Linked DNA regions of Homo sapiens: all the other regions are linked to region 4. The links are contacts of gene promoters, found by promoter capture Hi-C in blood cells and fetal thymus (Javierre and others, 2016). All regions are on one chromosome and are shown on one strand. Each heading gives the region's core, a stretch centred on a gene start or on the middle of the fragment in contact. The rest is flanking DNA. Distances are from core to core; before and after follow the strand shown. Region 1 overlaps LOC124905186 (a long non-coding RNA gene). Region 2 holds the start of GLOD5 (glyoxalase domain containing 5). Region 3 holds the start of WAS (WASP actin nucleation promoting factor). Region 4 holds the start of TFE3 (transcription factor binding to IGHM enhancer 3).

Evidence for each region. The method cuts DNA at HindIII sites, captures the fragments that hold promoters and counts their contacts. A CHiCAGO score of 5 or more calls a contact.
Region 1: a fragment that was not itself captured here is called in contact with the fragment with the promoter of TFE3 in region 4 in 3 of 17 cell types (total B cells, naive B cells and naive CD8 T cells); the score reaches 6.4 in total B cells.
Region 2: a contact is called between the fragment with the promoter of GLOD5 here and the fragment with the promoter of TFE3 in region 4, in 2 of 17 cell types (megakaryocytes and activated CD4 T cells). The highest score is 6.1, in megakaryocytes.
Region 3: the fragment with the promoter of WAS here is called in contact with the fragment with the promoter of TFE3 in region 4 in 1 of 17 cell types (M0 macrophages); the score reaches 5.1 in M0 macrophages.

The regions. Positions count from the first base shown.
Region 1 is chrX:48,649,259-48,651,958 of GRCh38, reverse strand. All of the region lies in intron 1 of LOC124905186 (a long non-coding RNA gene), which reads right to left. Among named protein-coding and RNA genes, the nearest start is that of WAS, 33 kb to the left of the region's middle. The HindIII fragment of the contact is 7,789 bases long and covers 1-2,700 here.
Region 2 is chrX:48,760,346-48,763,045 of GRCh38, reverse strand. It overlaps GLOD5 (glyoxalase domain containing 5), which reads right to left and starts at 1,299. Exons shown (of 4, transcript NM_001080489.3): 1 at 1,193-1,299. The coding sequence starts at 1,255. RefSeq lists a cis regulatory region at 805-1,547. The HindIII fragment of the contact is 2,551 bases long and covers 1-1,428 here.
Region 3 is chrX:48,682,524-48,685,223 of GRCh38, reverse strand. WAS (WASP actin nucleation promoting factor) reads right to left here and starts at 1,425. Exons shown (of 12, transcript NM_000377.3): 1 at 1,239-1,425; 2 at 801-941. The coding sequence starts at 1,370. The HindIII fragment of the contact is 18,512 bases long and covers 1-2,700 here.
Region 4 is chrX:49,041,963-49,044,662 of GRCh38, reverse strand. It overlaps TFE3 (transcription factor binding to IGHM enhancer 3), which reads left to right and starts at 1,306. Exons shown (of 10, transcript NM_006521.6): 1 at 1,306-1,552. The coding sequence starts at 1,437. RefSeq lists a silencer at 1,336-1,575 and an enhancer at 1,117-1,980. The HindIII fragment of the contact is 3,845 bases long and covers 797-2,700 here.

The DNA of each region.
Region 1 (2,700 bases), core at 155-2,654, 390 kb after region 4:
GAAACTGTTTTAAATCTCTTATACTAATTATATTAATTGACCTAATTTTCACAGCAACCCTATGAGTACGGGTTTATCTCCATCTTGTTTTATTTAATTTGGAGACAGAGTCTCACTCTCTCGCCCAGGCTGGAGTGCAATGGCACGATCTCCACTCACTGCAGCCTCCTCCTCCTGGGCCCAAGCGATCTTCCCACCTCAGTCCCCCAAGTAGCTGAGACTACAGGTGTGCACCACCACACTCAGCTAATTTTTGTATTTTTTGTAGAGACGGGATTTTGCCGTGTTGCCCAGGCTGGTCTTGAACTCCTGACCTCAAGCAATCCACCCACCTCTGCCTCTCAGAGTGCTGGGATTACAGGCATGAGCCACCACGCCCAGCTCATATACCCATTTTAAAGATGAGGAAAGTGCAGCACAGAGACATTCAGTAACTGGCACAGCTAATAAGTGGCAGAACTGGAATTCAAATCCAAGCTAACTCCAGAGTCCCCCTCTTTACCACCACACACTGCCAACAGAAATGTTGTTCTGACTGCAAAGAAATTGCTCACTTTTTAATTTAAGAAAAAAGGATGATCAAGAGAATGAGATGATAGCCAGGTGTGGTAGTGTGCACCTGTAATCCCAGCTACTTGGAGGTTGAGGCAGGAGAATTGCTTGAACCCAGGAGGCAGAGGTTGCAGTGAGCCGAGATTGCACCACTGCACTCCAGCCTGGGTGACAGAGTGAGACTCCGTTCCCCCCTCCCCACAAACGTGAATGAAATGACAAGCCACAATATTTGCAAAAGAGGTGTCTGATAAATGACTATTATCCAAAATTGCAAAGAGCTCTTAAAACTCAACGGTAAGAAAATGAACAACCTGATTAAAAAATGGGCAAAAGACCTGAATAGACACCTCACCAAAGAAGGTGGACAGATGGCAAATAAGCATATGAAGATGCCCAACATCATATGTCATTAGAGACTTGCAAATTAAAACAACAGTTAGGCTGGGCGCAGTGGCTCATGCCTGTCATCCCAGCACTTTGGGAGACCAAGGCGGGCGGATCACCTGAGGTCAGGAGTTCAAGACCAGCCTGACCAACATGGAGAAACCCCGTCTCTACTAAAAATACAAAATTAGCTGGGCGTGGTGGCACATGCCTGTAATCCCAGCTACTAGGGAGGCTGAGGCAGGAGAATTGCTTGAACCTGGGAGGCGGAAGTTGCGGTGAGTCAAGATCGCGCCATTGCACTCCAGCCTGGGCAACGAGAGTGAAACCCTGTCTCAAAATTAAAAAAATAAAAAATAAAATAAAACAACAGTGAGATGCCACTACACACCTATTAGAATGGTGAAAACAACACACTGACAACACCAAATGCTGTCGAGGATGTGGAGCAACAGAAACTCTCATTCATGAGAATGCAAAATGGCACAGCCACTTTGGAAGACAGTTTGGCGGCTTCTTACAAAACTAAACATACTCTTACTATACCATCCAGTAATTGCATTCCTTGATATTTACCCAAATGACTTGAAAACTTATGTCCCCACGTAAATCTACACACAGGAATGTTTATAGCAGCTTTATTCATAATTGCAAAAACATGGAAGCAACCAAAATGTCCTTTGGTAGGTGAGTGGATAAATAAACTGGTACATCCAGATAGTGGAATATTATGCAGTGAGAAAAAGAACTGAGCTACCAAGCCATAAAAAGACATGGAAGAGGCCAGGCGCGGTGGCTCATGCCTGTAATCCTAGCACTTTGGGAAGCGGAGGCAGGTGGATCACTTGAGGTCAGGAGTTTGAGACCAGCCTGGCCAACATGGTGAAACCCCATCTCTACTAAAAATGAGCTGGGCGTGGTGGCACACGCCTGTAATCCCAGCTACTCAGGAAGCTGAGGCAGGAGAATCACTTGAACCCGGGAGGCGGAGGTTGCAGAGAGCCGAGATCGCGCCACTGCACTCCAGCCTGGGTGACAGAGCGAGACTCTGTCTCAGAAAAAAAAAAAAAAATGGAGGAAACTTAAATGCATATTACTAAGTGATAGGTTTGGCTGTGTCCCCACCCAAATCTCATCTTGAATTATAGCTCCCATAATTCCCACGCGTTGTGGGAGAGACCCAGTGGGAGATAACTGAATCATGGGGGGCAGTTTCCCTCATATTGTTCTCATGGTAGTGAATAAGTCTCACAAAATCTGATGGTTTCATAAGGGGAAAACCCTTTTGCTTGGTCCACATTCTCTTTTATCTGCCACCATGTAAAACATGCCTTTTACCTTCCACCATTATTGTGAGGCCTCCCCAGCCACGTGGAACTGTGACTCCGTTAAACCTCTTTATAAATTACCCAGTCTTGGGTATGTCTTTATAAGCAGCATGAGAACAGACTGATATACTAAGTGAAAGAAGCCAATCTGAAAAGGCTACATACTGTATGATTCCAACTATATGACATTCCGGAAAAGGCAAAACTAAGGAGGCAGTAAAAAGATTAGTGGTTTACAGGAGTTGAGGGGAAGGAGAGATGAATAAGTGGAGCACAGAGGATTTTTAGGGCAGTGAAACTACTCTGCATGATACTGCAATGATGGATATGTGTCCTTGTATCTTTGTCAAAACCCATAAAATATACAACACGAGTGAGTCATAATGTAAACTATGGACTTTGGGTGATGATGATGCGTCAATTGCAGGTTCAT
Region 2 (2,700 bases), core at 50-2,549, 280 kb after region 4:
TCTGCATCATTTTGATAGTCTGTTAGAAATAAACTCCACCTATTCCTCCCATTATTCTATTCTTCCCTGCCAGCTTAGATTCACTCCCCAGATCCTGCTTTGCAGACTCGGAGCTCCATCCTTGCAAATTCAAGGACGAGCAGGGATGGCTGTCTTCAATAACAGGAAGGCCAGCGTAGCTCAGAACCCAAGAGTGAGTGAGAGATAAGTGGGAGGGCAAGGCAGGGTCTGGATCCTGCAGACTCTTGGAGGTGAAGTTACAAAGCCTGCTTTATAAAATGATGATCAAGACATAGTCATCACACAAAGGACTGGGTGCAGTGGCTCACGTCTGTAATCCTAGCACTTTGGGAGGCCAAGGTGGGTGGATTACATGAGGTCAGGAGTTTGAGACCAGCCTGGCCTACATGGTGAAATCCTGTCTCTATTAAAAATACAAAAATTAGCTGGGCATGGTGACGTGCACCTGTAATCCCCTACTCGGGAGGCTGAGGCAGGAGAATCGCTTGAACCTGGGAGGCAGAGGTTGCAGTGACCTGAGATTGCACCACTGCACTCCACCCTGGGCGACAAGAGCAAACCTCGGTCTCAAAAAAAAAAAAAAAAAAAGACATAGTAATCACACAAGGCTTACTGTGTGCCAAGCCCCGTTTTACACACTCTACAAAAATATAATCCATTTTATTTCTCACCACAGCATATAAAATCCCTATAGTCAGAGTGCCCGGAACACCATGTCCTTCCTCCTTTGGCCTCCTCTACAGGGAAGTGTTCTGTCTTCCTACAGGGTCCTCTTCAAGGTCCCCTTCAGGTTGCCAGGGGCCTCTGAATTCCTCTCCTAAAGCTCAAGGTCAGCGCTGTGTTTCCTAGCCTCTCTCCACATGGCCTTAATCATGACAGCTTTGGGGGCACCCTGCGTGAGCCACCTTTGTATCTCTCCACCTGTCCCTGGCTAAACTGGGGGAGGAGCCAGCCCTCAGCCCCGGCCCAGCCCTGCACACCTGAGCACAGGGCCCTCCATGGCTTAGAGCCGGGCCTTTCCATGGGCCTCTGCTGCCCTCTGCTTGTCTCTGAAAGAGAAAGGGAGAGAGGAGGACAGGAAATGGGAGCCCGCAGAGAAGGGAAACAGGTTACTAGACCAGTTTCAGTGCCAACACCCTTGCCCCAGATCCCCAGGGGCCATCTTGTTCACCTGTTTCTCCAAAGTCCTGCCCCACATCTTGACTGGCAGCCTGGAGGGCAGATGGCGCAGCATGGCAGGGTAGGCGTCTTTGCCCAGGGTCCTCCCGACAATCCTCTGGCTCAGCGCCTGGAGATCAAGGGGCAGGAATGGGAGGGCACAGGCTGAGGACTGTGGGAGGTGACACAGGTAGGTAGTGCAAATGGAAGGACTTTAACATTAAATTCAGGGCCTCAAAATTGAAAGCTTAAAGTGGATGTGTGTAAGGGATTACTTCTTGTTAACACTGAAGGCTGGGTGCGGTGGTTCATGCCTGTAATCCCAGCACTTTGGGAGGACAAGGCACGTGGATCACCTGAGATCAGGATTTCGAGACCAGCCTGGACAACATGGCAAAACCCTATCTTTACTAAAAATACAAAACATTAGCCAGGCATGGTGGCGGGCGCCTGTAATCCCAGCTACTTGGGAGGCTGAGGCAGGAGAATCGCGTGAATCCGGGAGGCGGAGGTTGCAGTGAGCCGAGATGGCGCCATTGCATTTCAGCCTGGGTGACAGAGCAAGACTCCATCTCAATAATAATAATACTGAAAAACCACCAAGTATTAAGGGGATCTTTATTCTAGCGTGTGATGCCTCTGGTCTACTTAGGGGTATGTCTCCAAAGTGTGAGATCTGTGAGCTGTTTGAGAGTGTGTGTCAGGGGTATGAAGTTGTGAGCTATCTGAGTTAGAGTATGACTGCTCTGACCCATTAGGTGTCTGTTTCCAAGCCAAGATCCCTGAACTCTTAAGAGTTCTGAGCCCCTTGGTCAAGCACGGTGGCTCACGCCTGTAATCCCAGCACTTTGGGAGGCCAAGGTGGACGGATTACTTGAGGCTGGGAGTTCGAGACCAGCCTGGCCAACATGGTAAAGCTCCATCTCTACTAAAAATACAAAAATTACCCAGGCATGGTGGTGTGCACCTGTAGTCCCAGCTATTCAGGAGCCTGAGGCAGGAGAATAGTTTGAACCCGGGAGGCGGAGGTTGCAGTGAGCCGAGATCGCGCCATTGCACTCCAGCCTGGGTGACAGAGTGAGACTCTGTTTAAAAAAAAAAAAGTTCTGAGCCCCAGGGTGTGATGTTCCTGAATTATTTTGGGGGATGAGTTTTGGGGGATGAGATTTGCAGTCTTCCTCCTCCTCCCCACTCACCCTTCACTCACCCTCACCTTCCGCTGCTGAGAGTCAGAGAACATTCATCAGCCCAGTTGCTGTTCACTTTACCCTGAGCAGAACTCCCCCATCTCCCTTACAGGTTACTTGTCTGGCCCCTGGAGCATGTGAGTTTGAGATTTTTGTTTCTAGTTACCCCCAACACAAACACTTTGTGTTGTGGATATTGTTTTGTTTTTGTTTTTTTTTGAGACAGTGTCTCACTTTGTCACCCATGCTGGAGCCCACTGGCGCCATGATGGCTCAGTGCAGCCTCAAACTCCTGGGCTCAAGGGATCCTCCTGCCTCAGCCTCCTGGGTAGCT
Region 3 (2,700 bases), core at 176-2,675, 360 kb after region 4:
CACCCCAGCCCCAATTCATGACAGGTAGGATTCTAGTATTTGGGGGTTGGAGTTGAGATTTGAAGTTCAGACACATAGACTTGGGAGTTTCGCGGGGAGTCCAGCTAAAGTAAGTGCAATTTGGGGTTTGTGGAGAGAGTTATGGTTTAGGAGTTTGGTGGATATTTGATAGCCTTGGGATCTGGAAGTTATGCTGGGTCCATCTTTATGGGTTTAAAAGGATGAATTTGGGGCTTAAACCTAGAAAGTTCAGGTCAGGGGATTGTGGAAAAGACTTTTTGCTTAAGAACTACCTCGGTATTTGAGTGTTCAGGAATTTTAATATGGGAACTCTGGGGTCTGTGCTGTGGATTTAGAAGGACAGATTTGGAGTTCAAGGATCAATGGAATATTCAACTTTGGGGTTTGTTGAACAGATTTATGACTTAGGAGCTTGGCAAACATCTGGGGTTCAGGAGTTTTGATGAGAGATTCCTGGGATGCAAAATGTTGAGTTTAGAATAGATTTGAGGTTCAGGTACAAATACAGTGCTCATTTATTGGAATTTGTGGAAAAGATTAGGCTTAGGCAGCAGACTAATACTGGGGGCTTTAGAGATCTTGATACGGAGACTGGGGCCAGTCATTGCAGACTTAGAAAGGCAAGTCAGAGTTTGCCATCTGGATGAGTCTTTGGTTCTGGGGCTCAGGGATTCACTGATCAGGTCTGAGGTCTTGAAGCTATGGACACATATGGACACAGATCTGGGTTTGCGGGTTGAGAACTGGCTTGCAAGTCCAGTCGGGGGTGGGGGGGTCACCTGAAGGCCGTAAAGGCGGATGAAGTAGGACTTCTGGGGGTTATCCTTCACGAAGCACACAGCCCCACAATGCTCCTTGGTCCAGTGCTCAGCTCCAGGGGGCAGCGCCAGGTACAGCTGAACAACTGCAGTGGCCAGCGTCTGGGAGAGGAAAGCAGGGGTCAGTGGAGTCTGGTCAGGGGTAGCCACAAGGTCTTGGAGCCAGACCTGGTCCTTCCTGCCTCATGACAGTCATGGGCCCAAAGGAAGAGCTGCAGCCAGAGGGAAGGCAAGTAGACATTGAGATCTTCCTGGGAAGGGTGGATTATGACGGGAAATTCTAGGAGAGGAGATGATGGAGAGGGAAAGGAGGAGCGGGAGGAGGGGAAGAGAGAGAAGGAGGAGAGGAAGAGGAAGAAACGGTGGGGACGGGGCGGGGGCAGGAGATCCCCAGCTCACCAAGCATTTTCGTCCAAGCATCTCAAAGAGTCGCTGGTTCTCGTGGTCCTGGAGGAGGGTGGAGGGTATGTTCTGCTGAACCGCTGGTGCTCCTCGGCCCCCGGGCCTTCCTCCCATTGGGCCCCCACTCATGGTGCTTTCTGCCCTTGTCTTCTCTGGCGAGGCTCTGGGTGCAGGGTAAGAAGAGGAACTTCCGCAATGAGCAGCAAGGGAACAGGAAATGCAAAAAACCACAAGGGACAAGGGAAACAAGTCCTCCAGGGGCCCCTTGGTGGGCCTGGCCTCCTCGTTAGGCTGAGCTTGGGCCCTCCGCCATCAGATTGGAACCCTCCTCCACTTGACTGCTTAGACCCACCTTTTGGATCAGCTTGGGTCCTCCTCCCCCTTTCTTACTCTCTGGGGCCCATCTCCTTCTGACTGGCTCAGACCCTCCTCCCTCTGGCTGGCAGCGAGAGCTTAGCACATCTGTGTGCAGGGCTCCCTGTGGCAAGGAGTAGTCATGGGCCTGGGTGGCCTCCTTTCTAAAGCACCTAGGTAGCCTGAGGCTGAGGCCCGAGGTCCCTAGTCCGGAAGGGTTACTACAGTAAAACTTTTCCTTTTGGCTGGGGACAATAGCTCACACCTGTAATCCCAGCACTTTGGGAGGCCGAGACGAGTGGATCACTTGAGGTCAGGAGTTCAAGACGAGCCTGGGCAACATGGCAAAACCCCATTTCCACTAAAAAATACAAAAATTAGCCAGGCATGGTGGCACACACCTGTAGTCCTAGCTGCTCAGGAGGCTGAGGCAGGAGAATCGCTTGAACCCAGGAGGCGGAGGTTGCAGTGAGCTGAGACTGCACCACTGCACTCCAGCCTGGATGATGACAGAGCAAGACCCTTGTCTCAAAAACAGCAACAACAACAACACAACAAAAACCCTTTTCCTTTTAATTACAGAGCGAGCCCCTGTGATCCACGCCTATCGTGAGTGCTTAGACACTGCCAATGACGCATATGCCTCTGGTCCACTTCCCCATCCCTTACCCTTGCCTCCCCGCAGCTCCCAAATTACTTTCTGCTTGTCATACTTTTTTTTTTCTTTTTTTTTTTGAGATGGAGTCTCACTCTGTCGCCAGGCTGGAGTGCGGTGGCACGATCTCGGCTCACTGCAACCTTTGCCTCCCGGGTTCAAGTGACTCTCCTGCCTCAGCCTCCCAAGTAGCTGGGACTACAGGCACACGCCACCACGCCCAGCTAATTTTTTTGTATTTTTAGTAGAGACAGGGTTTCACCATGTTGGCCAGGATGGTCTCGATTTCTCGACCTCGTGATCCACCTGCCTCGGCCTCCCAAAGTATTAGAATTACAGGCGTGAGCCACCGTGCCCAGCCCATCCCTTTTTTAAAGAAAGGAACTTTATATCATATATGAATGCCTGAACAACATCTTGTTTAGTTTTCATTGCACTTGAAGTTTGTAA
Region 4 (2,700 bases), core at 57-2,556:
ATGGATGAGTTTACGAAAGCAACTGACAGACCTGTGAAATAATGATGCCAATACAGGAAGGTCCAAGGTAAATGAAAGCCCGGTGAAATTCCTGGAGGCGCAACTCAGGGTGGGGTCTTGGGATGTCAGGAAAGAGGAAGGGAAGGCTGTAGGTCTGGGTGTTTTGTGAGCTATTTGCACCTGAGGATATATGAGTGAGACCCTCCGCCTTGTGCGAGCCGGCTTGCATGCGTCTGGCATACAGAAGCGCTCAGTGAATGTTGAATAAGTGAACAAATGAGTGAATCAACTAATTTTGGGAAGCTTCTTGTATGCCAAACAACCTGCTAGCACTTTTCATACATTATCTTTAATCCTCAGAACAACCCTGCCAGACAGGTATTTTGACCCCCATTTAACAGGCCAGGAAAGCTGAGGCTGGGAGAGGGGAGGTCCCCTTCCCTATTCAAACCTGGATCTTTGTGATTCCAGAAGTCGTCATTCACCGAAGGGACCAGATTCATTCACCCGTCAAGAATTTATTAAGCACATATTGCGCAGCGCAATGAACATAGTACAACCGCTCTCGATGGCATGGAACAGGCGGAATACTCCCGGAAGACCAGCTGGGCGGCTGGACTGCGGACAGCGAAAGGGGGGGGTTTCTGGCCCGCACCTTCAGGGAATGTAGCTGCCTCTGCCTCATAGTTATGGCTTTGGCTGAGAGAGCACAGCCAGATCGAGGTTGGAGCGCGGTCTAGGGCTCAGATATTACAAATATTGGCCGAAAGAGGGCGCGGTTCCGCAGCTAAAAGCTTGGCCAGGAGACCCTCCGTGCGCCGACTGGCCATCGATGCGCAGGCGCAGAGGACCCAAGGAGCGGCTTAATATTACCTTGCAGAGGGATAATTTGAGAAGAGAGGGCGTGGCTCCGAAAGCGACGCAAACATAGAGGCGTGGTTCAACCAAATCAACCCTCGCCTATTTGTCGCTGCCCCTGAGGGCGTGGTCTGGGTGCTGCTTCTCGGAATGAGGGCGGGCCGAATCGCGTTTTTCCTCCGCGTCGGAGGCGTCGCTTAGGGTGGGCCCTCGAATCGCCGTTCAGCGATTGGCCGCCTCGCTAATGGGTCGTGGCCAGACGGGCCATCCATCCCCAGTGCGGTCACTTCCTGTGGAGTTTCCCCATCCCTGGGAGGAGGGAGGAGGGGGAAGAAGACGAGGGGGAGGAGGGCGGTCGTCCGGGGTTAGGTTGAGGGGGGGCGTCGGTCCGTTCTGGGCGGGGGATGACTCACAGCCCATCCCATCTCCCCGACGCCGCCCGCCCGCGCAGTGCTAGCTCCATGGCTTAGCGGAGGAGGCGGCGGTGGCGAGCTGGGGGGAGGGGGGACTCTTATTTTGTTAGGGGGACCGGGCCGAGGCCCGACCGGCCTGGCAGGGCTCGCCCGGGGCCGGGCGTCATGTCTCATGCGGCCGAACCAGCTCGGGATGGCGTAGAGGCCAGCGCGGAGGGCCCTCGAGCCGTGTTCGTGCTGTTGGAGGAGCGCAGGCCGGCCGACTCGGCTCAGCTGCTCAGGTGCGGGGCCGCCTGGGGCTGGGAGTGCCGACTGGGGCTCCCAGGGGCCTGATCTCGGGGGCAGTGGGGGCCCCGGACTGGGATTGGAGGCCCTCGGCCTAGCCTTGGAGGACGTCGGGGCGCCCGTCTTGGGGGGGCACCTAAGGAATCCGGCAGTGGCCTGCTTGGATTGTGGCTTTATTAAAGGAGTCGTGGGAGTGCATTAAGCGGGGTCTGGGTCAGGTTTGGGGAGCCCTTGACTGCGTCTAGAGGGGCCTATTCTGGAGTATCCAGAAACTGGTCTGAGATAGCTGAACTTGGTAGACAGGGTCTCTGATTAGAGGCTGAATTCGGGGATTTTCAGTCGGACATGAGGGGAATGAATTTGAGGGGACACTGTCAGGTGAGGCACTGGTTTTAAGGGAATCCTAGAATCTTTTTTCCCTCAGTGTGGGAGAAGGGGTCCTGAGGGACAGAAGTGCTGTCTTGGGAGCTTGGTGCCTCTCAGTGACTGGTTGCTGTGTTTGGGGATAACATGAATCTGGAGGGATTTGGAGGTATCTCAGATATGCTGCCTGGGACCAGCCTTGTGAGTGCGTGTGAATGAACAAGAGAAGCAACATTCAGCAAGACTTGACCAGAATAATCCTTTCCCCTCTGCCCGCCTACCCAGCTGGGGCAGATCCCAAGGATAGTGGAAAAGCCCTCTTCCCACACCTGTTAAGGGCCTGAATGGAAGATAGACAGCCAGGCAGAGGGCGATGATGTTACCTCTTAGCTCAGAGGCCTCAGACCTTGTTTGGGAACCCAGAGGAGGCTCTTGTTCATGCTGCTACTCGCTCTAGCCTCTCAGCCCTTCCCACTCCCTAGCCCCACACCCCTTTTCTTTTTATCTTCTTTTCGATCTCCGAGCTCCTGGGGGTAATCTTGAATCTGTCCATAGAGCTGGAACGAGTACAGATTGCACCATCCCTGCCTGGGTGGATCCCCTCTGGCCTCTTCTCATCCTTACTTTCATCAATGGGCTTTGGAGCCCCAGCCCTCCCTGCTCACCCCAGTGCCCATCTCTTCCAACTTCTGTGCAATGGGTGTGTGAGCCCTGGGTGGGGGGGGGTCTTTGCCTCCTTTGTGCCTGGGATTGTGCTGAGCTCAGTGGCTCGCCCGAGCTT